7 separate regions of the Homo sapiens genome follow, and all the other regions are linked to region 2. Evidence: promoter capture Hi-C in 16 types of primary human blood cells and fetal thymus (Javierre and others, 2016). All regions are on one chromosome and are shown on one strand. The core of a region is centred on a gene start or on the middle of the fragment in contact, and the rest is flanking DNA. Distances in the headings are between cores, read along the strand shown. Region 1 overlaps INPP4A (inositol polyphosphate-4-phosphatase type I A). Region 2 holds the start of ZAP70 (zeta chain of T cell receptor associated protein kinase 70). Region 3 overlaps INPP4A (inositol polyphosphate-4-phosphatase type I A). Region 4 overlaps INPP4A (inositol polyphosphate-4-phosphatase type I A). Region 5 has its middle 23 kb from the start of INPP4A. Region 6 overlaps INPP4A (inositol polyphosphate-4-phosphatase type I A). Region 7 has its middle 41 kb from the start of INPP4A.

The links. The method cuts DNA at HindIII sites, captures the fragments that hold promoters and counts their contacts. A CHiCAGO score of 5 or more calls a contact.
Region 1: a fragment that was not itself captured here is called in contact with the fragment with the promoter of ZAP70 in region 2 in 1 of 17 cell types (M0 macrophages); the score reaches 5.3 in M0 macrophages.
Region 3: a contact is called between a fragment that was not itself captured here and the fragment with the promoter of ZAP70 in region 2, in 1 of 17 cell types (M2 macrophages). The highest score is 5.5, in M2 macrophages.
Region 4: a contact is called between a fragment that was not itself captured here and the fragment with the promoter of ZAP70 in region 2, in 1 of 17 cell types (activated CD4 T cells). The highest score is 5.0, in activated CD4 T cells.
Region 5: a fragment that was not itself captured here is called in contact with the fragment with the promoter of ZAP70 in region 2 in 1 of 17 cell types (M1 macrophages); the score reaches 5.7 in M1 macrophages.
Region 6: a fragment that was not itself captured here is called in contact with the fragment with the promoter of ZAP70 in region 2 in 1 of 17 cell types (M1 macrophages); the score reaches 5.4 in M1 macrophages.
Region 7: a contact is called between a fragment that was not itself captured here and the fragment with the promoter of ZAP70 in region 2, in 8 of 17 cell types (M0 macrophages, M1 macrophages, M2 macrophages and 5 more). The highest score is 12.1, in M0 macrophages.

The regions. Positions count from the first base shown.
Region 1 is chr2:98,564,741-98,568,358 of GRCh38, reverse strand. INPP4A (inositol polyphosphate-4-phosphatase type I A) reads right to left here. Exons shown (of 25, transcript NM_001134225.2): 19 at 3,596-3,618; 20 at 2,593-2,719; 21 at 2,190-2,330. Among named protein-coding and RNA genes, the nearest start is that of COA5, 42 kb to the left of the region's middle. The HindIII fragment of the contact is 5,676 bases long and covers 1-3,618 here.
Region 2 is chr2:97,711,420-97,714,880 of GRCh38, reverse strand. ZAP70 (zeta chain of T cell receptor associated protein kinase 70) reads right to left here and starts at 1,305. Exons shown (of 14, transcript NM_001079.4): 1 at 1,207-1,305; 2 at 887-965. RefSeq lists an enhancer at 524-1,497. The HindIII fragment of the contact is 8,251 bases long and covers 1-2,346 here.
Region 3 is chr2:98,532,612-98,536,257 of GRCh38, reverse strand. INPP4A (inositol polyphosphate-4-phosphatase type I A) reads right to left here. Exons shown (of 25, transcript NM_001134225.2): 5 at 2,763-2,881; 6 at 413-529; 7 at 50-129. Among named protein-coding and RNA genes, the nearest start is that of COA5, 74 kb to the left of the region's middle. The HindIII fragment of the contact is 2,156 bases long and covers 267-2,422 here.
Region 4 is chr2:98,502,601-98,506,161 of GRCh38, reverse strand. The region is part of intron 1 of INPP4A (inositol polyphosphate-4-phosphatase type I A); the gene reads right to left. Among named protein-coding and RNA genes, the nearest start is that of INPP4A, 60 kb to the right of the region's middle. The HindIII fragment of the contact is 1,667 bases long and covers 983-2,649 here.
Region 5 is chr2:98,419,875-98,423,355 of GRCh38, reverse strand. No RefSeq gene overlaps it. Among named protein-coding and RNA genes, the nearest start is that of INPP4A, 23 kb to the left of the region's middle. The HindIII fragment of the contact is 312 bases long and covers 2,034-2,345 here.
Region 6 is chr2:98,588,645-98,592,291 of GRCh38, reverse strand. INPP4A (inositol polyphosphate-4-phosphatase type I A) reads right to left here. Exons shown (of 25, transcript NM_001134225.2): 25 at 1-3,647. Among named protein-coding and RNA genes, the nearest start is that of COA5, 18 kb to the left of the region's middle. The HindIII fragment of the contact is 317 bases long and covers 1,988-2,304 here.
Region 7 is chr2:98,401,762-98,405,459 of GRCh38, reverse strand. No RefSeq gene overlaps it. Among named protein-coding and RNA genes, the nearest start is that of INPP4A, 41 kb to the left of the region's middle. The HindIII fragment of the contact is 4,305 bases long and covers 1-3,698 here.

The DNA of each region.
Region 1 (3,618 bases), core at 1,119-3,618, 850 kb before region 2:
TGTTACAGGCGTGCCTGAGAGATGACCAGAACATGATGTGGTACAGATCCTGTGCAGCACAGGATCCCCCCTCACAGCCATTTGGCTCAGAGTCCCTGGTCTCCTCCCATCTGAGGCACTTAGGAGGGGGGACGGCAGTGAGGTATGGCTGAGAGGTGAGGATGCAGCCCTGTACTCCAATCTGAAGTCACTCTCTGTGTGCAGAATGAACACACCTGACTGCCAGCCCCTCCGGGACTGACATGAAGCCCTTGCCCTTTCGTCATCGTGCAGGTTCACCCTGATCACACTCAGTGTGCTACAAGGAGCATGTGCCAAATGCCTAAGAAACAAAGCCATAAAATGCCACCTGCAAGGAAGGCACAAGGTGATCATTAGGAAATGCAGGCTCTGAAGTCCAGGTCCTGGGCCCCAGTGCAGTCTCACACATCCCTGCTGAGGGGCCTTCCGAGCATCAGCTTCTCTGTGGCCCGAGAGCATCCCTCAGAGGGCAGGATTCCCTCCTACGGGTCCCAGCCCATCCACCCCTGGTGTCCACAATGGCCTTTTCTCTAGACGCCTGCTCCCTTGGGGGCCATCCCTGACTCTGGGCCTGTGGCCTCCCCTCTGAGGGCTCTTCCCTCAGCTTATAAACAAGCCCAGCTCACCAGTGACCTCAGGGCCAATAAAGAAACAAAGTCAAGAACCTGCCCTTTGCAAGTCCTCTCTGTCCTCAGTGTTGCATCCTCCACCCTCCCCTCTATTCAATGCACCTGGCTCTGGCTCAGCCCTCTCTAGAAACTGCTCCTGCAAGTCTGTGGGATCCGCAGCTACTGGATGCAGGCACCATCATTTTCCCTCCCCTGGGCCACCTCCCTGCTGGGGCTCCAGTGAGGCTGCGCCTCTCCCTGACATAGGCGCCTCCAGCTCTGCTCACACCTTTGGGGCTTTGCTTCCTGGGCTGGTGCCCTCAGTCCAAACCCAGCTCACCACCTGCCTCTGGACACGACTCTCCTGCCAGTTTATGAGCTCAGTGGGTGGGTCTGTCTGGTGTACTCTCCTCCCACTCAGCCCCAGCCCCAACCCCACTGAAGACCAAACCCTTCCACTGACCACTTTAACAGTTCCCCAGCCTACCCCTCTGCAGAACACCAACACTCCCCTGGCCCTGATCCAGGTTCCCACCTCTGGCCTGGACTCCTCCCAGCAGCCTCCTCCTCACACTTGTCCCCTTCATCTCCTCCCGGCACGTGCCAGCGAAACGACCTACTTTAAATGTAAATCTGATTGTGTCCTGCCCCACTGAGAGTTCTTCAGTGTCTCCCAGCAATGATACCATATTTCCTAAGTTGGTGTGACCCTACACCTAGGCGTCAATGGACATCAACCACTGGGGTTGGACATCAGAAGGCCCAGCAGGAACACGGCATATTGTTCTGGAAACCAAATTTCCTTCACAGCAAGTACTTGAAGATCTCTGTTTAGACTATTCTACACATATCACATGAAGATAAATGACAACACAGGAATCATTCTCATGTACTAGTGGAAGGCCAGTAAAGGGTACATATACCCAATCTACCCTATCTCCTCACACACATGTGCGCACACAGGCACACGTGCACACACAGGCACACACAACTCCCCTCTGCAGTGTGGCAAGTGACCCTGGAGGGCAGTTGCCTTTAGGTTCAGGCATGAGTCTCAGCCTGGCACACAGAGCCTGTCTACCCTTACCTGCCAATCCCTGCCTGGAACCTGGTGCCCCTGAACTCCATGCTGTTTCTCCTCGCCAGGCCTTTCTTCAGTCTTCTTAATCTGACATGTCTCCCCTCCACCTCATCATCCAACTCCTATTCACAATTCAAAGCCCCATCCCCTGCAACTCCAAGAAGCCTTTACAGACCCCCTAGACCTTGCTGGGTGCCCTACTCCGGATCCCACAATGCCCTGTATCTGTCTTCATCATTGCATCCATGTCTCTCTCTCTCCCACCAGCTGAGTCCCTGAGGACAGAGACCACCTCTGGGTCACTCTGTGTCCCTAGCACCAAAGACAGTGAGGTGCACGGCCATGATGAAAATGTTGGCCAAAGGAAGGAAGGATGACAAAGTCTGTCCAGCACTTAGAGCCTGAAGAGGGGTAAGTACGTTTTCTGCATCATCTCCAGGGCCACCACACCCCCGCAGCCCCGAGGAGCCGGCACGCACCTCTCGGCCAGTGTCTGCTGCTCATTGATGCCCACGTTGAAGAGGACGGGCTGCACTCGCAGCAGCATGCCACTCTGGATCTCCCGGGGCAAGGCGTCAAACAGCGGGCCCGGCAGAGGGACCCGCACGTTAAACCCGTCGCTGGAGAAAGGTGGAGAGAGGGAGAGCAGTGTGAGGCCAGAGGGCCACCGAGCAGGCTGCAGTGCCCAGGCTGGCCCTCTGGCTTAGTGATGGCCAAACTGCCAACCACAGACCTTTAAGGGAGTGGCACTAACCTAGGGGGCTGTAATCAGAGCATTTAACAAAATGAAATAGGATAAAAAATTCAGAAGAGTACCTTCCCTGAGATAAACAAAAATGAAAACCGCTCTCTGGCTCAGAGAATTTTAAACCAACACTCTACCGATTTCCTGTGATGACGGGCAGCATGTCTGCGGAGGCGCTGGAAGTGGCCTGAGTGACTTTGAAGGTCACGTTCCTCAAGTCCATGATCCCAAGGCTCATGTCCTCCAGCATTGCCAGCTCCTCCCCTGGACATGAGAGAGGGGCAGGGCTGTCAGGCAGAGGGCCCTGCTACTCTCCCCAGTCTCAGCAGAAGGCAGCCAAGCCCAGGCCTGGCTGTGACAGGAGGGGTGCAGGTGTGGCTCTGGTGGAGGGGGAGTCTCTGAGCCTCTTCCCCTGCAACTCACTCCTCTGTGAGTCAACAATGCCTCTGAAATCCCACAGCCACATCAAAACATGCATCTGGTGGAAACACGCGCCATCCCTTCCCACTATTTCTTGGGCAAGCACCAGATAGTAGGGAGGGAAACAAATACATAAACTCAGAAAGCAAAGCCAGCTCTTGAAACACGAAATGAGAGATGCTAAAGCAGCTTTGCTGTGGCCAGACCCTCCCATTACACAGGGCTTGATATCTATTCGATGTCCTCAATTTCCAATGATTAACAAATGCTTTCTATCACCTTCTCAGAATAAATAAATAATAAACAAGGGTAGGAAGAAGAGAGCCTTTTTAGAGGGCAATTTGGAAATATCTATTAAATTTAAAAATATTCCTACCCTCTGACCCAGCAACTCTCCTTCCAGTCATTCAGTAGCTGCAGAAACAGGCCCACAAGTGCCTCATGCACAGATGTCACTGCTGCACTGGTGTTTCAGGAACAACCCAAAGTCCAACAGGAAGTTACTGGTTAAGTAATTAGCATCCATCCTCAACCAGCAACAACAACAAACCAAGGCGTGTGCGTGTGTAACTGCCAGGTCTGCCATCTGGTCTGCTGTTATATATTTTGGATTTATTTCAATAAGCACGCATTACTGGTATAGTGAGAAAAGTGCCTAGCAAGAAAGGATGGAAACCACACACGCAAGTGGGGCTCCCGATCCTGGCCCGGGCGCCTCACCGTAGGTGCTCAGCAGGCTCTCG
Region 2 (3,461 bases), core at 56-2,555:
CCACCCCCGCAACACTGCCAGGGCAGTGGGGCTGAGGATGGAGGGCAGGTGTGAAGAGGAAAAGGAAGCTCTGGATTCAGCAGGAGGCAGCTTCACAGGTGGCACCTTAGGAGTCCCTGACCCTGATCTCTCAGCAAGGCATTATTAAACACCTCCTGTCTGCCTACTGTTCCAACCAAGACGAGAGTAATGAATCATCTCGAGCTGCTCACCTCATGAACTCCTGTTCCTTCCTGTCGGGGATGCTTCCTACCTGGGACACATTTCCCAGCCTCTCGCCAACAGTCAGGAACCAGGCGCCTGCCAGGTGCCCATATCTGCATGTGCATTTAACAGATGCACAAACTGAGGTCAGAGAGGCCAAGCAACTTGCCGAGAACACACAGCAGTTGAGGAGAACTCGGTGTTTTGCTCTTTCTCTCTCCAGGTCTTCCTCTAACCTGAGCTCGCCTACAAGTGGCTCAAGCCTGCCCTGGACTCCTCACAGGAATCACAGCATTCTGCTGATGGAGCTCACGGCCCTGGTGAGCAGCCCCCTCATCTTCACAGAGTGCACATGCGCTTTCTCTGGAGGTTTCTCTGCCTCCGAGAGCCAAGGATGCAGCCAAACAGGGCCCAGCAGGAGCCCAGGGACTGAGCAGGCCTCACCGTGTCCCCTGAACAGCCCCGCTCGGCCAAGCCTCTGGAGGGGGAGCTGCTTCCCTCAGCGTGGCCACAAGCCCCGTCTGCCTCCATCTCCAGCCAGTCACCACCCAGCCCAGTCCTCCAGCTCTCCTGGTCCTCCCAGCAACCTCCTGACTCCCAGTTAATATTCTGTCTTCCTCCTCCAGACACAGCCCACCATGGAGACGGTGGCCAGGTGCCACTCCACCCAGGCACCACTTACCTGGGGACGTACAGGTGGATGTCCAGGCAAACAGGCCACTTGCGGGGTCTCTGGTCCCAATGCCAATGGAGAGCCGGTTCTGGGTGAGGAATCGGGGCTTACAAAGCCGGTTTGGATTTCCCTGCAGCCCAAGCCCCCAGCCTGAGAGGGAGGCCCTGCCGCTCACACTCTCCGCACACACCCCGGGGGAGGATGTCACACCCCGCCAGGGTTTCTCACTCATGGATGGGGGGGGTTCATCCTCTGCCAGGTCTCCCAGAGCCCCCTGGGGTGGCCCTGGTGGCAGGACACAGGCAGAAGGCCCGAGGACAGCCGCTTACCTGAATGCCCCAGCAGCAGCTCTGAGGCCCACGGTGGGCCAGGCCTGCCCGGAAGGCCTGGTGTCTGCTGAGCTCCGGCAAGCAGGCTTGTCTGAAACTAACCTATTTCCTGGATGCGAAGACAGGAAAGGGGGCTGTGTTTGATGTTTACATCAAAGTCACAAAGTGCTGTGCTCAAGGAAAATCACAGGCCACGTGCTCCAGGGAGGCAGAGGGCATTTCCGGGGCCCAGCACTGCCTGCCCAGCTGCAGGATGGGACTGAGAGATGGGAATGAGGCTAAGCAAAGGCAGGGTTTCAGGAAGGACGACTCCAGCAGCAGGAACCGTCAGAAGGGAGGAAGCCTGCATACCTGGAACCGGAGGGTAGGCAGCAGTGGTGGGAAGGAGGGGAGTCCCAGGGCTCATGGAAACTGGAATGCCCCCATTTTCCCCTCAAAGGGGCGTCGCCCTGGGGCCTGCACCAGCTAGACAACCCAGAGGAGTGATTTGTTTATTCCACAGGCAGGTTAGAGCTGGAGGGAGGAGAAACCCACTGAGTCAGCCCATACCCCGAAGGTGAGAACCCCTTCTGTGCCAGGCATCTGGATGGCAAGGACAGCCTGCCCTTGCTCTCCAGTGGCTCGCAGGCTTGTTGGGGGCAGCTGAGTCCACAGGGAGCCAGGGCTGGGAGGCCGGAAGCCTGGGCACTGTGTGTCCCCAGAGTATCCCCAAGCCAGCCTGGAGGATGTCAGGGATGCGTTCCAGGAGGAGTCAGCCACCCAACCGAGACACAGAGCCAGGGCATCCCCAGTGCTAGCCCGGCCCACCTGGGACCTTTCCCACGAAGCTGAACCTGGCTGAGTGCCATCCCGCTGTGGCCACCACCTCCTCCTCCTCTTCCTCTCCTCCCTTCCCTCACCCTGTGCACCCCCTACCCTTGGGCCTGGGGCCACACCTCATGCACTCTCTCAGAGAGGGGCCTGCAGAGCCACTCCCTCGGCTCCATCTCCCCTCTAGTGCCCCAAGGCCTCTGGGAGCCCCTTGCCCACCACCTCCTTGCTTTCTTGGGCACTAAGGGAGTCGTCACAGCTCTCCTGTCTGTGGGGCCTCAGAGACCTGTGTGGAACTGCCCTGGGCCCACTGTGGAGACTCCTAAAGCTTTTCTTCTTGGGGTCCTGCTGCCCTTGTTAAGTGGGCTTGTGATACCCTACCTTGTTTTAACCTGAATTGACTCTCCCTTAGCTAAGAGAGCCAGACAGACTCCATCTTGGCTCTTTCATTTGCAGCCCCTTACCCACCCCGCTTCCTCAAGGACTTAATTTGTGCAAGCTGACTCCCAGCACATCCAAGAATGCAATTAACTGATAAGATACTGTGGCAAGCTATATCCGCAGTTCCCAGGAATTCGCCCGGTTAATAGCACCCAGAGCCCCGGCGTTTGTGTCCGGTTGATAACGCCCAAAGCCCCGTGTCTATCACCTTGTGATAGATTTTAAGCCCCTGCACCTGGAACTGTTTGCTTTCCCGTAACCATTTATCCTTTTAACTTTTTGCCTGCTTTACTTCTGTAAGATTGTTTTAGACCCCCACCTGTCCTTTCTAAACCAAAGTATAAAAGAAAATCAAGCCCCTTCTTTGGGGCTGAGAGAATTTTGAGCACTAGCTGTCTCTCAGTCGCCAGCTAATAAAGGACCCCTGAATTCGTCTCAAAGTGCGGCGTTTCTCTGTAACTCGCTCGGTTACAACAGGCTCAGCTCCCCAGTCTGCCTGAGGATCCCCTCACACCCTACCCCGAAGCCTCCTTGGGGACCTCCTTTCTGGCCCTCTACTATCCTCTGGCCGCCTGAATCCCCTTTAGAAAATCTGAGTTCCGGCTCTAGGCTACTTTTCTCCTTCATACAGCCCCCTCCAAAATGGTGTTTGCTAGCAGCCTCCCTTTTCCCCAGCGGCATCTTGAAACTCCAGGTGCAGCAAGCATCCCTTCACATCCATGCTGGACGCTCATTTCTTGGAGTATTGAGAGAAAAAGACACCGGCACCCTGAAGAGAGGAGAAATTACAGCATCAAATCACATTCATACTACAATAATGAGAGTCGCACTGATTATGTGCCAGACATTGCTGTACGCACATCACAATTAATAAGCCATTCAACCTATTTTCCAGATAAGGTAAGTAAAGCCCAGAGAGGTTAAGAGATGCCAAGTGGCCAGGTGGGATTGCAGCCCAGGCAGCCTGACCCCACCCACGTGCTGCTGGACATAAAAGAAGAAAA
Region 3 (3,646 bases), core at 95-2,594, 820 kb before region 2:
GGACCTCATGATTCCAGATCCTTTCAAGGGAATAAAACTGAATACCAACCTTAGTGTTAAATGCAACCTATGATGCCTGTCCTGGAGCAGATCTTTGACAATGAACGTTCCAGAGCCCAGTAAATACATCTGAGGAAGAGAAGGAAGAGAGGCAGCATTGGTGCGCTTGCTTTGCTTCTGATGCAATTACCATGGCCCCAGAGAGTCCAGCTGACTGCTTCCCACAACACCTCTTACCCTTATGTCAGAAGCCCAATGGGAAAGCTTAACAATTCGCAAAGACAAATGCATTTAGACATGAGTTAACTTGTGAGCCAGTAGTGAAGTCAATCTGTGTTCATCTCTCATTCAAACGATTATATAATTTTTTCAAAGGGAAGAAAATCCCACGAACTACAACACATTACTTAACTGTTCCCTGAGATCTATCTTTGACATCATACACGGAGAGTTTGACTTGTGTCATCTGATTGATAAGAGAGTCTTGAAAGAAGGCAATACTGCTTAGAAATATAGGATTGTTGGTTCCCTAGAACAGAAAAGGAAATAATCAGAACACAGGGTTGGATTTTTAAAATGTAATTGCTTTTGAAATACACCAACATTTTCAGAATGAGAAACTAACATTCTCACTGCCTTGAATCAACACAAATGCTAAAGGCGGCTTAAATAAATACATAAAACAAACAAACAAAAAAACTCTGCTTTTTAAAAGAGAAAAAAGAAGTCTGACATAGACCATTACAGATCCACATACAATAAATCAGCCCATTACACAAGCTGTGCCTGAGGACTCATTTCATGGGTTTCACACTCAACAGGAGGAATTTTTAAAAACTGAAACAAGTTGGATGTCCACATGCATTCTTAGTTTTATAACTTAAAGTGTAATGTGTATGTAAACCTACTACTTTGAGTTATTCCTTTAAGAGGTACAAATAAGCAGATGAAAGAGAGAAAATGAATGGCTTAAGTGGTTTATTATGTATTTCTAGAAGCCTGTGTTTGGAATAATTAAAGCCTGACTTTTCAAAAGCTATCCTTTTTTTAGGATCAGCTACTAGTTTTTTGATCATAGGTGACTATTTCCTGGCAGCCTGGCCATGTCCTCCAAAGCCCCGTAATACCATACTCTCTCAGGCACCAGGTAATTATCACAGCCACCATTCCCTGGGCCTCTGGCTCCTTTTTCTCTCTGGAGATCCAGATCCAGGTGGTCAAGCTGACTGGACAGCTCCACCTGGGTGGGCTGCTGGGGCCTCAACCAACTCATCTCTCCCTCCACCTGCCCTTGGCTAAGGCCACCTCTGACTCCCTTTCCAAGCAGGCTAAAAGCCCGGGCATTCACTTTGGTGCCTTCTTCTCTGTTGTTCTCAACCATCCAGTGATCATGAACTCCCCTTGCAAGGTCCACCTTCAAAGTCTCTGTCATACGCTCCTTTCTTTCCACTCCCTCCAACTCTCACTCCCCCAAATGCCTGTCCTATACAAGTTAGGACATCTGGTCAGGTGACTCCCCTGCACAGAAGCCTACACTGGCTCACTACCATCTGCTGATAAACTCCACGGCCTTCAAGGCTTTCTTTCCTTGCTCTCCTACTTGTGCCTTTCACACACTGACCAGGATACAGTTAGACCCCAAACCTGCATGATCCTTCCCTGTGGTCACACATTTGCATAGCCACAACAGAACTTTGGCGTGCTCTTCATGTGGAGTCCCCCGACTGGCTACCTGGGCATCACTTGGGAGCTTGTAAGAAATGCAGTCTTGGGCCCTACCCCAGACATACTGAAGTAGAATTTCATGAAGCCCCACCCTAGGAAGCCTGCTCTGACTCTCACAGCCAGATAGGATCCCAGCCTCCTGGTGCTCTCCTTACCTTCCTACTCCAATACTTCCCATACTCTGCTGTGCACACGGGTAGCCATATTCATTTCTGCCTCCCCACCCACCAGCTGGTCAATTCCTCAGGGCAGGGACTGTGCCCTGGTGGGCTCTGTATCATCCACAGTGCCTGGCACTATGCTAGATGTGTAGGTAGCACTCGACAACTGCTTAGAAAGCAGAATTGTTGACGTGAACTTGGAAATAAGTTTCTAAGAGACTGAAAGGGTGGGCTAGCTTCCAAAATGCACAACTGGTGAAGAAGAAGAAATGCAGTTTAAGTTTGATAATTCTTCACTTTACAAATAAAACTCTGCAGAATCTCATGCCACCAACTCCTACACTTAGTGTTATGTAATGTGCTTGATGATCTAAAAGGATCATCCATAAATGTTTATCCACAAATGTTTATCATGTAACTTAGTGGGAAAAGTTAACATGTGACACAAAACTCAAAAGGCTGTAAAAACAAAAACCAACAAAAATAGGGGTATGTCTGGACAAGAGGGTGGTAAATAGTTAATACTCTTCTAAGCTTTGATTAATGAGCACCACTCTTGCAAAGTAGCAGCCAATTGGAGGTGACAAGAAGGAATTAGGTCTTACCTCTTACAAGGCAATGAAGCTTACAGGATCATTGTTCAAAAACAAGCTGCCAACAGTTAATCAATAACTGTAAAGGATATGGCAATATAAATGCCACCCAGATGAGTAAATGTGATGAAAAATATCAATGTACTGAAAACCCATGGGAAAATAGCAACAACTCACGTAAATACAGCTTCAGCTACAGATGCACAAGTAACTGAACATCAGGACAAGAGACACCACTAGAGCATGTCCCACAGCCCCTCAGAGAGAGACCACCAGCACCCACCTCAATGATCTCCGTCTGTGCATGCTTCGTCCAGAATGCCTGAGGAGGGGTGGTGACACTCACCGCAACAAAACTATTTGGCTTTCGATCTAGCGATGGAGTATGCAGCTCACTGCAAGCTACAGAATCAACACGGGAAAGAAATGAATCCTTTAAAACCAGACTCTGATTAGTTTTCTGTTCCAAACACATTCAAAGAAAGCACAAAGAGTAAATGACATTCAAAGAGATGAGACGATCACATCGTCAGTTGTCACAGGGAAGTGATTTTTTAAATTTGAAACAATCTCTTTTCACGCCCCCTCCCCGCCACCCTCCAAGACAGCAATGTCATAACTTCAGTGAAAGGCTGCGCTGACGGGGGCTTCCCATGTCCATGGAGTGGAACACAAAGCCAGAAATCTCATATAGGTCCAACCCTTCAAGTCCGACCTCGGTAACTATTCCAACTCTAACCAATTGAGTGAAGGAGCCACAGAGTCTACGAAATCTAAGACAGAGCTACCCATGCTTGCATCCTGTGACTGCTGTGGCTGACTCTGAGCATATGGTGCTCCACGTGTCTTGGCAGGTGGATGGATGGATGCTGGAAGAAAATTAGAATTCTATGGCAAAGTAAACAAAGCTCTTTTTTTTTTCTTAAGTGAGCCATTGTTCATTTACAGTCAATGATAAACCACATATATGACAATGGTCTCACAGATTATAATGGAGCTGAAAAATTCCTATTGCCTAGGGATGTCATAGCCATCCTAACGTCCCAGAACAAACACATTACCTTTTCTATGTTTAGACACACAAATACTTACCATTGTGTTACAATTGCCTATAATATTTAGTACAGTAGCTGTCCAGGTTGGTAGCCTAGGAATAACAGGCTATAC
Region 4 (3,561 bases), core at 567-3,066, 790 kb before region 2:
CATCTCCTGTGGTTACTCAGTCTCTGACTCCATCTCCAGCTTTTCCCATCAAGCAACACTAAATTCTAGTCAGGAAACAGGGCTTCCTAGAGAAGCAAAAGGCAGAACTTTAGGATGAGAGCAGATTCTTTTTTGTATCATTCATGTTTGATTTTCTTTTCTTAAATTAAGCTGAAATTAAACCCCTCGAAGAAATATTGTTATTGTTTCTGTCAAAAATAGTTAAAAAATAAAGTTTAAAAAACAAAAATTTGTGAACAGGATAAACAGACAAAACCTAGCCAACAATATCAACTAATAGCAAAGTGAAAAAGCAAGAATATTCTGTATTTCTAATGGTGGAGACAGGGATTCTATAAATATTGTACAGAAATAATATATTTCAACAGGAAAGTGGAAGGGGAAATGCACCCTCCTGCTGAATCAGCAAGACACAACTCAAGCCCAGGCGTCTGTGGTGACGGCTGGCTCTGTGAGCAGGGCTCCTCTGCTCTGCTTTTATGACTACTGTGTTTTATTTGTAACTTCCTTCTATTTACTATTACCAACAGGTTTTACTCAATCCTAATTTGGTAAGGGAAGAGTGTGCAAGCTGTTTTGAGAAACAGTCACCGCTGTCTCCAATTCTCTCTGGTGACATACACCTCACAGTTCAAGAATAAAGCATGTGTCCTCTCTCTCCTACAAAAGCTCCCACGTCCTCTCTTTCAGGTTCAACAAGGAAGCACTGCAGGGAAAGTGAACGAGCTCATCACTCTGGCTGGACACATAAAAAGTCAGGCCCCACATGGGAAACGCAAGCCTCCACCAAGGTCAGCCCACTCATGAGACACAACAGTCCCAAAGGCTCGCCCAGTACTTTTCCCCAAACCTAAAGGCAAAGTGCACCCTTGGAAGAAGAGGTGGGCATCCATGCCACCTCCTAGAGGGGTTGGGCAGATCCCAGCAGGAGGCTGCCTGAACCTTTTCTAAATGGGAAGCTTTGTGTTCTAGTTTATGCCAGGTCAGTGAGCAACCATTAAGCCAACTTTTGGTTTTGTTTACTAGAAAGCAAGTTATTAGTATAGTACTTTAATATTCAGGCAACTTTCAAAAGTCCATGCTAACAGAGCTTTGGGAAAACAAAGAAAAGACAGAGAGCCTAGAGTGAATCTGGTAAGATGGTCTCAGGCTTGCTCAATCACATGATGCAGAATGTCAAGGCCAGCCAAAGCTGTAGATCCCCCTTGCCATTGCCAGTCCTGCACCTTCAGCAGGATGGCACGTGGGCCTGAAGAGGCACTGAAGATTAACACCACACACATCATTTCCTTCTACAGCGCCACGTTAAGAGCAGAACTGATAATAAGTTGAAAGTTAATAATAACGTGCTTCAGACAAGTGGAGTCAGGCAGGCTCTGTTTATTTTTCTAAGCACTAGGAAAGCCTGCCTTCTAATTCGCAAGTGTCAAAATTGGCTTCACGAGAAAATAAAAAATTTTCTGAGTAGCAACAAAATTCCATAAAGGGCTATAAATGTGAAGCAACCATCACAGATCAATGAAATGCCGGGAAGACAATGCTATTTTAGAAACCAGGCAGTAAGCCAGGAGACTGGGGATGACCTGCCCAAGGCCTCCAAGTGGCAGCACCAACGTTACAATGCTGTTTCTAGCTTCCTCAACAACAAACTGAAATCAGGGAGAGACATCTTGGTCCTCTAGGTCCCATGGAAACACAAAGTGGTCACACATTCAGCAACTTTACTACATGTAGATCTCTGGCAAAGTGGTGTATAACCTGTTTATTTTAGCTGTGAAAATGGAATCCTGTTTGAAACATTCAGTGTTGGGGTGAACACTTAGCAGAGACACAAAAGGACTTCAGTCTTCCCTATTCTCATTAAAACAAATCAAAAGGGCAGCAAGCAGTCCTGATGTTTATATAGGACCTTCCTGGAGAGAGGGTTCTATGGCTTCAGCTACTCGGCTGTGTTGCTGGTTGTTCAGCGTTCCGTGTTTGGTGAGGGAGGACCCCCACTGGCAGTCCTCCATGGGCCTCTTCCACAGTGAACTGACCACAGCTCTTTATTGCAAAGCTGACAGTGGCTGGAATAATGAAACCTCAAAAAGAAATGCAGTTTTTAAAAGAGTGCAATAAGCTGTGCCTCTGAGGCCCATGCCCTTCCTTGGGCAGTGCTCTGTAGCTACCCACCAGAGCTGTGGTTGAGTAAGTTCAACCATGTAGGGACAAGTGCCAACTGACACGCAGCACCTTCATGCTCAACAGCAACATCTGCCTTCTTCTCATGTGGCACCTCTTCTCAACCAGCAGCAAAGATCAGGCTAATAGGGAAGGGACCAGGGCAGAAGACAGGAGCCCTGCCTGCAGGAGAAGGAGTCTCTGTCATCCTGTCACGCAAGCCTGGTTTGATGACCTGAAATGCCTTCTGATGAGAGTGTCCAAAGGAGTCTGTAATCTGGAACTGTCCATTCATCTGTTCAACAAGTACTGAGCTAGGCACTTACAGTGAACACACAAGTGAATCAGAAGTGATCTCTGCCTGCAAGAATCCAACAGTTTAATGATGGAGTAAAACATTCAGATAACACAACTCCAAGACAAAATGAGATGCATGCCCCATGCTGCTACAGAGGCAAGGAAGAAGCTTGAAATCTGGCAAAAGATGATCCAGATGAGGTGCGAGTTGATCTGACTTCAAAAGGAACAGGCACAGGTGCATCCAGCAACAAGCACTCACTCAGGAAACAGGAAAGTCTTGTGTATCAAGGACAGAGAATGGGGCTGGAGAGCCAGGACGAGGTCAATTCTGGAGATCCTTTAACACCAGACCACAGAGCTGGGTTTTAGCTTGCAGGCAGTGAAGAACTCCCTAGGATCTCAATTGTTCAAACCAATCTCAAAAGTCCTGGTACTCTCTTGGACTCTCCTACTGGGCTTTTGAAGACAAATCTCTTTCTCACTTGGGGCAAACCAGGGAGGAACCTGCCCACAAGAATTGCAATGAGCATCCCTTCTCACCAGCAAAGACAGACCCCTGCTCAGACCTGGCAAAGCTGGGTCAAGATGGCACCCACCACCACATGAACAGGCAACATTCACGACCAACACATAAAGGGCAACTCGTTTGTCCCAGGAGGTCTCCAGGGGTTCTAAAGGTCCATTTGTCATCAGCACAACTAAACCTAGTCCGTCCAAACTCCCTATCTCTGAAGGAAGCACTGATTCTGCAAATATAAAATAAAATCCAATAACTCAAAAACAACAAAAGAAACTAAAACCACTTGGGTAATTCAAGAGGGCAAGCAATTTCAGGTCTATTAATAAAACCCTTAGAGCAGGGCCATCTTTTGCCTTTGAGCTAGGTCTCCTTGGTGACCTCACCCATAAACAATGCAGTAGTGAGACTGCTCACAAAAGTCACAAGAACTATTTTCCCTTTGTTCCAGAAAGATTCCTAATCTGGTTGTGGTGCTGTTTCCATGGAAAATGCTAACGAGTAGGAATATCAATGTGAAAATAAGACAATGTTGAGGTACTTTCACCATTATCTCTTTCTCC
Region 5 (3,481 bases), core at 940-3,439, 710 kb before region 2:
TCATGTGTAATATTTTCTATTAATAATTTCCTTTGTGGTTTTTTTCAGTGACATATTGGTTTTTTCAGAGCATGTTTTTAAATTTTTATGTATTGGTGAATTTTCCAATTTATTTCTATTATTAAATGCTGTCTGGTGTTTTTATGCTTCTAGCATGAAAAAACTGCTTTAGTATTTCTTGTAGGAAAAAGTTCTGCCAGCAATGAATTATCTGACTTTTTATTTATCTGGGAATGTTTTTATTTCACCTTTGTTTTTAATTTTTAATTTTTTTTTTTGAGATGGAGTCTCACTCTGTCACCCAGGCTGGAATGCAGTGGTGCAATCTTGGCTCACTGCAATCTCTGTCTCCTGGGCCCAAGCGATTCTCCTGCCTCAGCTTCCTGAGTAGCTGAGATTATAGACATGCACCACCATGTCCGGCTAATTTTTTGTATTTTTTGTAGAGATGGGGTTTCACTGTGTTGGCCAGGCTGGTCTAGAACTCCTGACCTCAGATGATCCACCTACCTCAGCCTCCCAAAGTGCTGGGATTACAGATGTGAGCCACTGCATCTGGCTATTTCACCTTTATTTTTGAAAGATAGTTTTTCTGGATATGAGTCTTGGCTGTTTGGTGGGGGGGCACTTTGAATATGCTATCCCATAGCCTCCTGTCCTCCATAATTTATTATAAGAAATCAGATGTCATTCTTATTAGGGTTTCTTTGTATGTGACAAGTCATTTTCTCTTGCCACTTTCAAAATTTTCCTTTTGTCTTTCATTTTCAGCATTTTTACTGTGATGCATTTGTACATGGGGATCTCTTTGCATTTATTCTACTTAGAGTTGGTTGATCTTGGATGGGTAGAATTTTTCTGCTCCTTTCTCTCCTCTCCTTCTGTTACTCCAATTAAGTGTATGTTGATATGTTTAATGGTGTTCCACATTTCTTAAAGATTGTGTTTCTTTTTCTTCATTCTTTATTCTCTGTTTTGGATTTCATACTCTCTATTGACCTATCTTCAATTATGCTGTTCTTTTCTTCTGCCAATTCACATCTATAGTTGAGCCCTTTTAGTGATTTTTTTCATGTCAATTACTGTACTTTTTAATGCCAGAATTTTAATTTTTTTAAAATAAAGTCTCTTTATTGATATTGTCCGCTTGATGAAACATTGTCATAATCCTTTTTTTACTTCTTTAAGCCTGGTTTGCTTTAGTTCTTTGAACACATTTGTAATGATAGACTTAAAGTCTTTGTCTGTTCAATTCAATCTGGGCCCTCTCCTAGGCAGTTTCCATTGCCTGTTTTTTTCCCCATGTGTGTGTCACACTTTGTTTCTGTGGGTATAGGTTTCATGCGCGTCCGTGTGAAGAGACCACCATACAGGCTTTGTGTGAGCAACATGGCTGTTTATTTCACCTGGGTGCAGGCGGGCTGAGTCCCAAAAGAGAGACAGCGAAGGGAGATAGGGGTGGGGCCGTTTTATAGGATTTGGGTAGGTAAAGGAAAATTACAGTCAAAGGGGGGTTGTTCTCTGGCAGGCAGAGTGGGGGTCACAAGGTACTCAGTGGGGGAGCTTTTGAGCCAGGATGAGCCAGGAGAAGGAATTTCACAAGACAATGTCATCAGGTAAGGCAGGAACAGGCCATTTTCACTTCTTTTGTGGTGGAATGTCATCAGTTAAGGCAGGAACCGGAGATCTGGATGTGTACGTGCAGGTCACAGGGGATATAATGGCTTAGCTTGGGCTCAGAGGCCTGACAATAGGAACTGAAAGAAACAATTGTTTATGATACAGAACATTCTACAGAGCCCTGTTATTTATATCAAAACCTGATGCTTGGAAACTTTTGGTTTTATTTTAAGTCATCCTTCATCAGGATTATGTGAAGAAAATGGATTTTAATCACATTTCTCTCCTTCGATAGTGGCTGTCTTCTTTGATTGCTTTTCTTTTTGCTAGTACTATTGGTTGAGTCTGGAACTGCCTCATCTTGGAACTCCTCACTTTGGGCGGTTGACGCTCACTCTGCTCAAGGAGAAGCTTCCTAGATGTGAGTTTCCTCTAATCCCTCTTTCTTTGCCTGTTCTTATAGTATTGCTTCTGAAATGTGTTTACTCCGTGGCACACAGATCATATATATTTGTCTAGCATCCTAGGGTAAATGAAAAAATCCACTTGTAGCTTGAGGTGCCCTGCTTGGGGATTCTGACCCAAGTGTCTCCAGTACACCAGATGATAAGTTCTACTCTGGGCCAAGATAAAGTTTTAGGTGTAGGGGAGAGGGACAAGGAAATTACTCAGTCCACTTTTGGTGTAAGCCTTCAGCCAGATATCTAGAATACATGAGTTAAGCTTACAAACACCCAGATTCACTCCCTACCCTTCAGAGGCCAACTCCTGAAAACTATATCACCTAGGCTTCTTTGTCAACTGTCTTCTGGCTGGATTTAGCCAATGGGATGCATTAATGGGAGACTGTGGAGCAGAAGGAAGGGAAAGGCAGCTGTCTCCCTCTGGCCTCCCCCTTGGGTGTCATTCTCGTGTTATTGGAAATGGCTCCATCTCCTTGGTCAGTCCAGCTCCCTCTCTGCAGTCTCTGTTGTGATTCCAGCTCCTGTCAGACATCTCTGACCCCTGGGTTTTATTAATCCCATCACCTCCTTGCATCCCTTGAGCTTTTGGGCATGCTGCATTTGCTAATATCTGTGTTGCTTTATGATTCTTTGTTTGGATTTTCAGCAACTCTATCAAATAATTAGTTCCCCATTAATTTCACTGTATCGAATATCTGATGTGGGCTGTTTTCCTGACTGCACTCTGACTCAGACAGCACACTAACAGCGTGTACATGGCCTTACAAATATCCCCAGCTGGTAAAAAAGGATATTCATTGGATTGACCTTATTCCCTGTGGACAGATCTTTGTCATAAACCTGTGGCAGCAGGAGGCAGCTAGTACAGAATTTGGGAGCCTGAGTCCTGGTCAAGCATTATTTACCTGGCCAATAATGGGGAAGAACAGAGATTTGGAAGAACAGAACATATCTGCCTGGCAACCCCCAGCCATCCTTTAAAATCCAAATGTCTTCACTCTTGGTCACTGGCCTTTTTTCCTCCCACTTCCTTCAGGCTGAATCAGTTCCTTCCTCATCTGTATTCCCAAAACAGTTTTCATAAGTATACTGTAGCGCTTTTTTGCTTTGGAGTCACGTGTGGACCTATTTCCCCTATTAGTTTGCTGAGGGCAGAAACCTGGTCTCAGTCAGCTCTGTACTTTCAGTGCCTTGCTCAGAGTTCGATGCCTGACACATAGAAGGCAACGACACAGTTTCACTGAATTCAGTGTTTCCCTAACCTGGCTGCATATTGGGATCACTTAGAAATATTTTTAACATGTTGGTTGTCCAGTCTTCACCCCAGGCTAATTAAATCAGCATCTCTGAAGACGGGGTCCTAAGCACTGGAATTTTTAAATGACTCCCTGGGTGAA
Region 6 (3,647 bases), core at 897-3,396, 880 kb before region 2:
TGTGCTTCTGGGCTGGGGTTCCTTCTGTGCACAGCAGAGCAGTGCCCTCACTATAACTTACAGAAAATCGGCTCTTAAGAGGGGCTGGTAGAAGAGGACATTTTGGGGAGAAAGTGATAAGAAGAAGAGAGTTTGTCCATCTCCAAATGCAGAGTTCTGTGAGGGCCTGCCTGCCAGGAGGAACTGCTGGTCTTGGAAGAGCCATCCCAGGAACACGATGGCATGTGAGGCCAGTTCCTTCTGTCCATGTGTTCCCAATACCCCTATACACAGAACAGCTCTTCTCCCCCCAGCTTAAGAGAAATGCTGGCAGCCCTTTAGAGTGACCAAAGAGGTCACACTGCCCACTGAGAGACATCTACTGCTCATTACTACAACATTAGGAACACTCAATGCTGCTGAGGATACTGTGAGAAACCTCTATTCAAAAATGGTGCCAACCTGCTGTGTGATGCTGGTAAAGAATAGAGGGAGGTTATGCAGTAGAACAATGTACAATGAAGTAACCTCCCCACATGGCTAATCATTTCTGTTCTTGGAAAAATCACAAATCGGGAAGCTCCAACCTCCAGCTCCTCTTACCTTCCTCCAGCGCAAAGCCTCCCTGGGACAACTCCCCTAGATCTGGGCAGCCAGATTGTGCCAAGTCATCTACTAAGCAGAGACTCAACAGGAAACTGAAGCGCAGCACCAGAATGGCATGCGGAGGGAGGGCAGGAAGAAGCTCACGGTAGCTGATGTCTGGGCGTCCTGACATGTCTTCTTCTTGGCTTAACTTTAAAGAGAAGCAAAATTAGGCCTGACCTTGAGGGATTCCCTCTGACTTTACATACTGTAAGCACAACACAGGACTTACACCAAGATGATTCCAGATGGATTGATCTAAATGTAGGACTGAAACCATAAACATCCTAGAAATAAGAACAGGTAAATGCTGAAAAAATAATCCTGAGACATGAGAGTGAAGGTAGAAACTGTTAATAATATTAAACTGAGCATGGCCCATGCACCAAGCAAGGTGCCAGTGAGCACTTTAGTCCAGCCCCTCGTCGTGGGCACGCAGCCACACCACCATGCCCACAAGGACATGGCTGTCCCATATGTCCCACCTTCCATGGTGAAGCCAGGACTCCATTTCAGAACAAGCATCAAAATGAAAGACAGGTATATGTGACTACATAAACCATTTAAAATACTGTATAACTCCTACCACAGACCAAAAGACAGCTGACAAATAGGTTAAAAAGTGTGCAACATATGACAGGGGCTAATACATTGTATATTAAAAACAATCTATATGAAATAGATCAACATTCCAATGAAGTCACAAACATAGAAATATCATAAAGGTATAAAAGATGTTCAGTGTTCACAGTAATCAAGGAATCAGGACACTGAAACGAGGTGCACTGCTACCATCAATGAGAATAAAGGGAAAAGGCACATGTTATTTTTGGTGGTAGCTTAAATTTCTAGGAGTTTGGTAATACTAAAAACTCCAAGAGTTAAACATTTCAATCATCCTTTAATTGTACATTTCCAGTGAGAGGAATTTTTCCAAGGGAGATAACGGGTCGTGTGTGCCTAGAAGACGGCACAGTGGTGCAAGATGCAGTCCTGGTGACGATGAACAGGGTCAATATTAATACAAGTGGAACTGCATTTTGACAAGTCATACAACGAGGACTGGGTTACCCACAGAGATGATGTGATCCATGTTCACAGACGGGAAGGTAACAACAATGGCTACCATTTATGAACACGTACTTCTGAGGCGCGTCGCACGTTCCTTATGAGGAAGGTACTGTTGTTGTCCACACTTTGCACATGAGGAAACGGAGGCTTGGAGAGGTCAAGCAACTTGCTCAGAGTCACCAGCCAGTCAGGGGCAGAACCAGGATTGGGACCTGGTCTGTGTGCTCCCAAAGTCCGTGCTCTTAACCTCAACGCTGTTGCCCCTCTGCTTCAAATTAGGCAGAAACAAGCTTATAAAATGGAAGTCTCCCATGGTCCCATGTTTACAAACATGTATTCAGCACCCGAGCACTCAATGCAATGCCCAAGAACAATGGTCCAGTCACAGGCTGGTCACATAGAACTAGTCCTCCTAATAGGATGAATCAGGCAAGACCACATTTAATATCTTGTCAGTTATTTATTATGTGTCATTCTAAAGACTAGCACATTTACAGCATACATGGCTTTGAATGACCTAAGAATATATAAAACAGTAACTGTATGTTTATATATATATAGTAATACTGCCCAAAACAAATAAATAAAGGTATCATAATGCACTAAGCTTGGCAAATACAATTGTGTAGGGACAAAACTGTATTATACAATATTTTTACATCTTTAAAGGAAACTAAAGGCAACTGTGCTCTGTAGGAGCTCTGACAGAATCCACATTACATTCCCAGTTTTCCATAGATCTCTTTTCTTTTTAAATGGGGAGGCATCATAAGGAACACTGGACGGAACCTCTGTTTTACGGTAACCTGTAAAACTGCCTTCCCTGCACCTCTGAAAACCCAAAGCTCCTACAGAAGAGAGGAGCTGCTTGCCTCTGTGCCACACACCCTCACCCTGCAGGCACTGGAAGCGTGTGATGCTGCCGGAAGCCCAGGAATGATGCCTTCAGAGAGAATACTGAAACCTGAACCTTTTCTATAGCATTTGCCAAGTCTTACAGTTTTATGGTGACCCATTACATAGAGCAAAAATTGGGAAAATAATTCATATAAAGGTGTCACATGCAAAACTGCTGACAGATGATCAACATTTGCTATATTCCCTTTGATGAGTGCAGATATTTAATGCTCTCCAGACAAAAAAGATCTGAAAACTATGTGGGTAATATTTATTTTTAAAAAGCAAGGAGATTTTTTAAAAGTTAAAATGAGAAAAGACAGAACTAAAAATTTACAAATTAAATGAGATGGTGGAGAGGTGAAAGGGTAAATCAGCCATATTGAAAACAAACTGTCTGTGAACAGAAATTGACACTTAAAAAGGAGAATCTGATACCAGCAGCAGCCACCTGTGCAGTGGGTTTGGCGGGCAGGAGCTTCTCTGCTTCCTGCCTGCCACAGTGAACTCAGCTTTGAGGGAGCAGCAGAGAGCTTCGTCCTTCATTAAAGTGTCCTTCACAGACATTTTCCTCCCTGCAGGCATCGGGAGACAGCAGGCGCTGCTTGCATGCTGACTTCTGAGTAGGAGGGGGTCTGGAAGGTCATCCAGTTCCACCCTACCTGATGCCCACCCCCTCTGTGTTCCTGCCAATAAGCAGTCCTCCCCATGCCTCAGCACCCCTGGCCCAAGTTTGTTACATGTTTCTAAAGGAACCAGAAGAATCTCTAGGCTTTTAGACAAAAGAATTTCTAAGAGGTTCACAAATCATTAGGATCAGCATCATTAATATGTGCCATATGTATTTCTTTTACAACCTTTTCAAGAACATGTAAACATCGTAAACAGAATCAATAAAACATATAAACTCCTAAGAAACAAACTCTGCTATGTGCAGATAAGACTCATCATCATCTTATAAAAGATGACCAGACAAAATTTTCTATGAAATTCCTAAGTTTTATGGCCCATAAATCCCTTTCAAAATCTCATTTGAGGAGAATAAATTTCAACTG
Region 7 (3,698 bases), core at 597-3,096, 690 kb before region 2:
AGACTGTGCTGGGTTAGACCTGAAGCCAGCACAGTACTTGGTCATGCCCAAGGCCTCCAGTGACCACTGCCCGGCTACCACCTATATTCACTCAAGGCCCAAGGGCTATACAATCAGCAGATGACAAATACAGGCAGGTTTGTGTCTTTCCCTTCAAGGCTATGAGTTCTTCCTAGCCCCAGGTGGGTCCGAGATGCCATCTGATAGCCAGGGCCTGGAGTCAGAAACCTTAGGAGTCTACCTGATGCTTTATTCTACTGTGGCTGAACTGGCACTCAAGCCACAAGATAAAGTCCTTCCCCTTCTTCCCTCCCTCTCTTCCCTCCCATTTCCTCAAGTAGAGGAGTCTGTCCTCATGGCCACCACTGCCTTAGGCCCATGGCAATTACTGCCTGCCTACTGCCTATGATGTTCACTCAAGGCCCAAGGGCTCTTCAGTCAGCCTGTGGGGAATGCTGTCTGTCCTGAGTCTCTCCCTTCAGGGCAGTAGGCTTCCCTCTGGCCCAGGGGAGGTCCAGAAATACTGTCCAGGAGCCAAGGGCTACGACTGGGTACTCAGGAGCTCACTTGGTGCTCCACCCACCTGTGGCCGAGCTAGTGCCCAAGGGGCAAGACAAAGTCCCCTTTACTCTTCCCTCTCCTTTCCTCAAACAGAAGGAGTCTCTCTCCATAGCCATCATAGCTGGGAATGTGCTGGGTCACACTTGAAGCCAGCACAGCTCTGAGTCTTGCCCAAGGCCCTTGGTGAGCACTGCCAGGCTACCACTACTTATTATTCAGGGCCCAGGGGCTCTTAGTCAGCAGGTGATTAATTCTGCCAGGACTGAATCTTTCTCTTCAAGACAGCAGGTTCCCTTTTGGCCCAGGGGTTATTTAGAATGTCATCTGGGAACTAGGGCTTGGAATGGGGGCCTCATGACTCTGCCTAGTGCCCTATTCTACTATGGCTGAGCTGGTATTCACATTGCAAGACAAAATCCTCTTTACTCTCATGTCTCCTCTCCTCAAGAAGAGAGAGAGGGTCTCTCCTGGAGCTGCAAGCTGCACTGCATGGGGTTACAGGAGGAATGATGTGAGCACTCTCTTGGCTGCCTCCGCTGATACCTTACTAGGTTGCATGCACTCCAAGTCCACTGGCTCCGAGTCCAGCACAGCACCAGGACTTGCCCAGGAATTGCAGTCCATGCAGCCTAGACTGCCTTCCAAGTTTACTTAGCACCCCAGAGCACTTTAGCCCACAGTGGCAGGGCTTGCTGGAACTCAAGTTCTGACTGCTGGGATGGACAATTTGCCTGGCTGGGGCTGGTCTAAACCCCTTCATGGGTGTCAGCTGGGTTCTGCCCTGAGTTGCTTTCTGCTATGACAGGGCAGCACTGAGCTCCAATGCAAAGTCCCACAATCACTGCACTCTCCCCACCACAAGCACACAGATTCTCTCTTCTTGCCATGCAGCTGCTGCTGAGGGATAGGGGAGGAGTGGTGTGGGCAACTCAAGACTGTCTTTCCTACCCTCTTCAGTGTCTCTTTCCTTAATATGATGTTAAAACCAGTACTGTGATTGCTTACTTGATTTTTGGTTCTTATGAAGGTGATTTTGTGTGTGGGTAGTTGTTCAATTTTGCATTCTTGTGTGTGTGTGTGGTGGGGCAACAATCACTGGAGGCTTCTATTTGGCTATCTAGCTCTGCCCCCTCCTCATCAACTTTGCAACTAGTTGTTTTGACATCCATTTTATATGATTGCCTAGATCCAATATTCTATGAGATATTTTTTAGTTGGAATTATTCTATAAAGACAGAAGTTTCCAGCTGGGAATGGTGCCTCATGCCTATAATCTCAGCACTTTGGGAGGCAGAGGTGGGAGTATTGCTTGATCCCAGAAGTTCAAGACCAGCCTGGGCAACATAGTGAGATCCTGACTCCACAGAAGGAAAGAAAAATAACTTTCCTTCCTCAATTGTTTAGGTTACTCTGAAATCTAGTTTTTGTATATGAAAGTCAGCATAACTGCTTGATTCTTTCCCTTTGACAATTTTTGGAATAAGCTGTAATGATGAACATTAAAAATATATTTGACTTAGTACATGCAATTGCAGTTATTTTTCTTTGTGGTGCTCAAATTCTCCCATCTTTGGCCAGTGGAAGTGCATTCAAATTGGATTCTATTTTCTACTGACATAATCTCAGTGTCTTTGATAATTCCCTTGCTTTCTGGCAAAACAAAATGTTTTGGGTTCATCTTGGTTCCTTTAAATGTAAAATTGTATTTAGAGACTACAACCTGGGTGCTATGGGCACTCATTGCTGCTGAGTTATTGTTCTGAGCTTTTTCAGTGAGCAGAGTACTTGGCCTTATGTCAATATTTTCCCGGTCTTTCTGGTCTTCTGAGGTTCTCCTCTTGTAGATTGCTCAGGAAGGGCTCATGAAAACAATACTCCTGAGTTTTTGCATGTTTATAACTGTTTATCTGCAGCCTTTCTACCTCAAGGCCAGTTTGGTTGGACATAAAATCTGTGGCTCATATTTTTTGTCTTTGAATATCATGCATGTGTTATTTCATTGTCTTCTAGCATGAAGTGCTATTTTATAAAAGTCTGAAGGCAATCTGATATTACCCCCTTGTAAGTGACTTTGTCTTTTTGCTTGAATGTCAAAAACGTTTTTTCTTTTCTTTTGCAGTCTATAAGTTTTACTGTTATATGTCTCAGTGCCAGTTTTCTGGCTCAATTTTCCCAGAATGCAGAATGTGTCTTCAATATCTAGTTCAAGCTAATTTTTATTTCAGGAACTTTTCTTAAATGATAAGTTTTAGTGTTGTGCTCTATTCCTGTGCTTTGGTACTTGTTTGGGATTCTTATTAACATGCTAGATCTTTGTTGTTTATTCTCCATCACTTTTCTCACAAATTCTTTTTATCTTTTTCATTTCTTTTTGATTAAAAAAAAGCATTTTGGGAGCAGTTTTAGGTTCACAGCAAAATTCCCATATACCTGCAACATACTTCATATTTTTGAAAGTGGTATCAAAGGTGCATTTGCTGTGACAGATGAACCTACACTGACAATTTTTCTCTTGAAGTCCATAGTTTACATTGGTGTCCACTCTTGGTGTTGAACATTCTGTGGGTTTTCACAAAGGTATAACAACATGTATTTACCACTACAGTATCATACAGAGTATTTTCAGTGCCCTGAAACTCTCTGCACTCCACCTGTTTATGCTTCTACTCCCCCAACCCCTGGCAAACACTAATTTTTTTTTTTTACTTTTGCCACAATTTTGTCCTTTCCCAAATGTCATATTCGGAATATCTTTTTTGATTTTTAAGACATTTTTCCTTTCCATCTTTGATTTCTCTTAAAACATTGCTTACTATGTTTATTTGCTCTTGTGTTCCTTTTAATTCAGTTTTTAAAATTTTTTTTGTTCTTTTATTTCTAGTACTTTTCTGAGTTCTGTTACAGCTCTTGTCAAATCTTCCTTTTCCTCAATCACCTCATCCTTGATTCTGGTTTATGCTGTTTTTTTTTTAATAGCATCTATCATTCTCTTAATTTCTCTTGGCTGGTTTTGAAATGATGAGTCAGTTTACATCCGTTCTGTGGGCATGTCTTTCTGGTGGGTTTCATTATCTGCAGAGATGTTATACTCCATCTGATTCTTCCTCGCTGTCTTTTTAATAAAGACTTTGCATGAA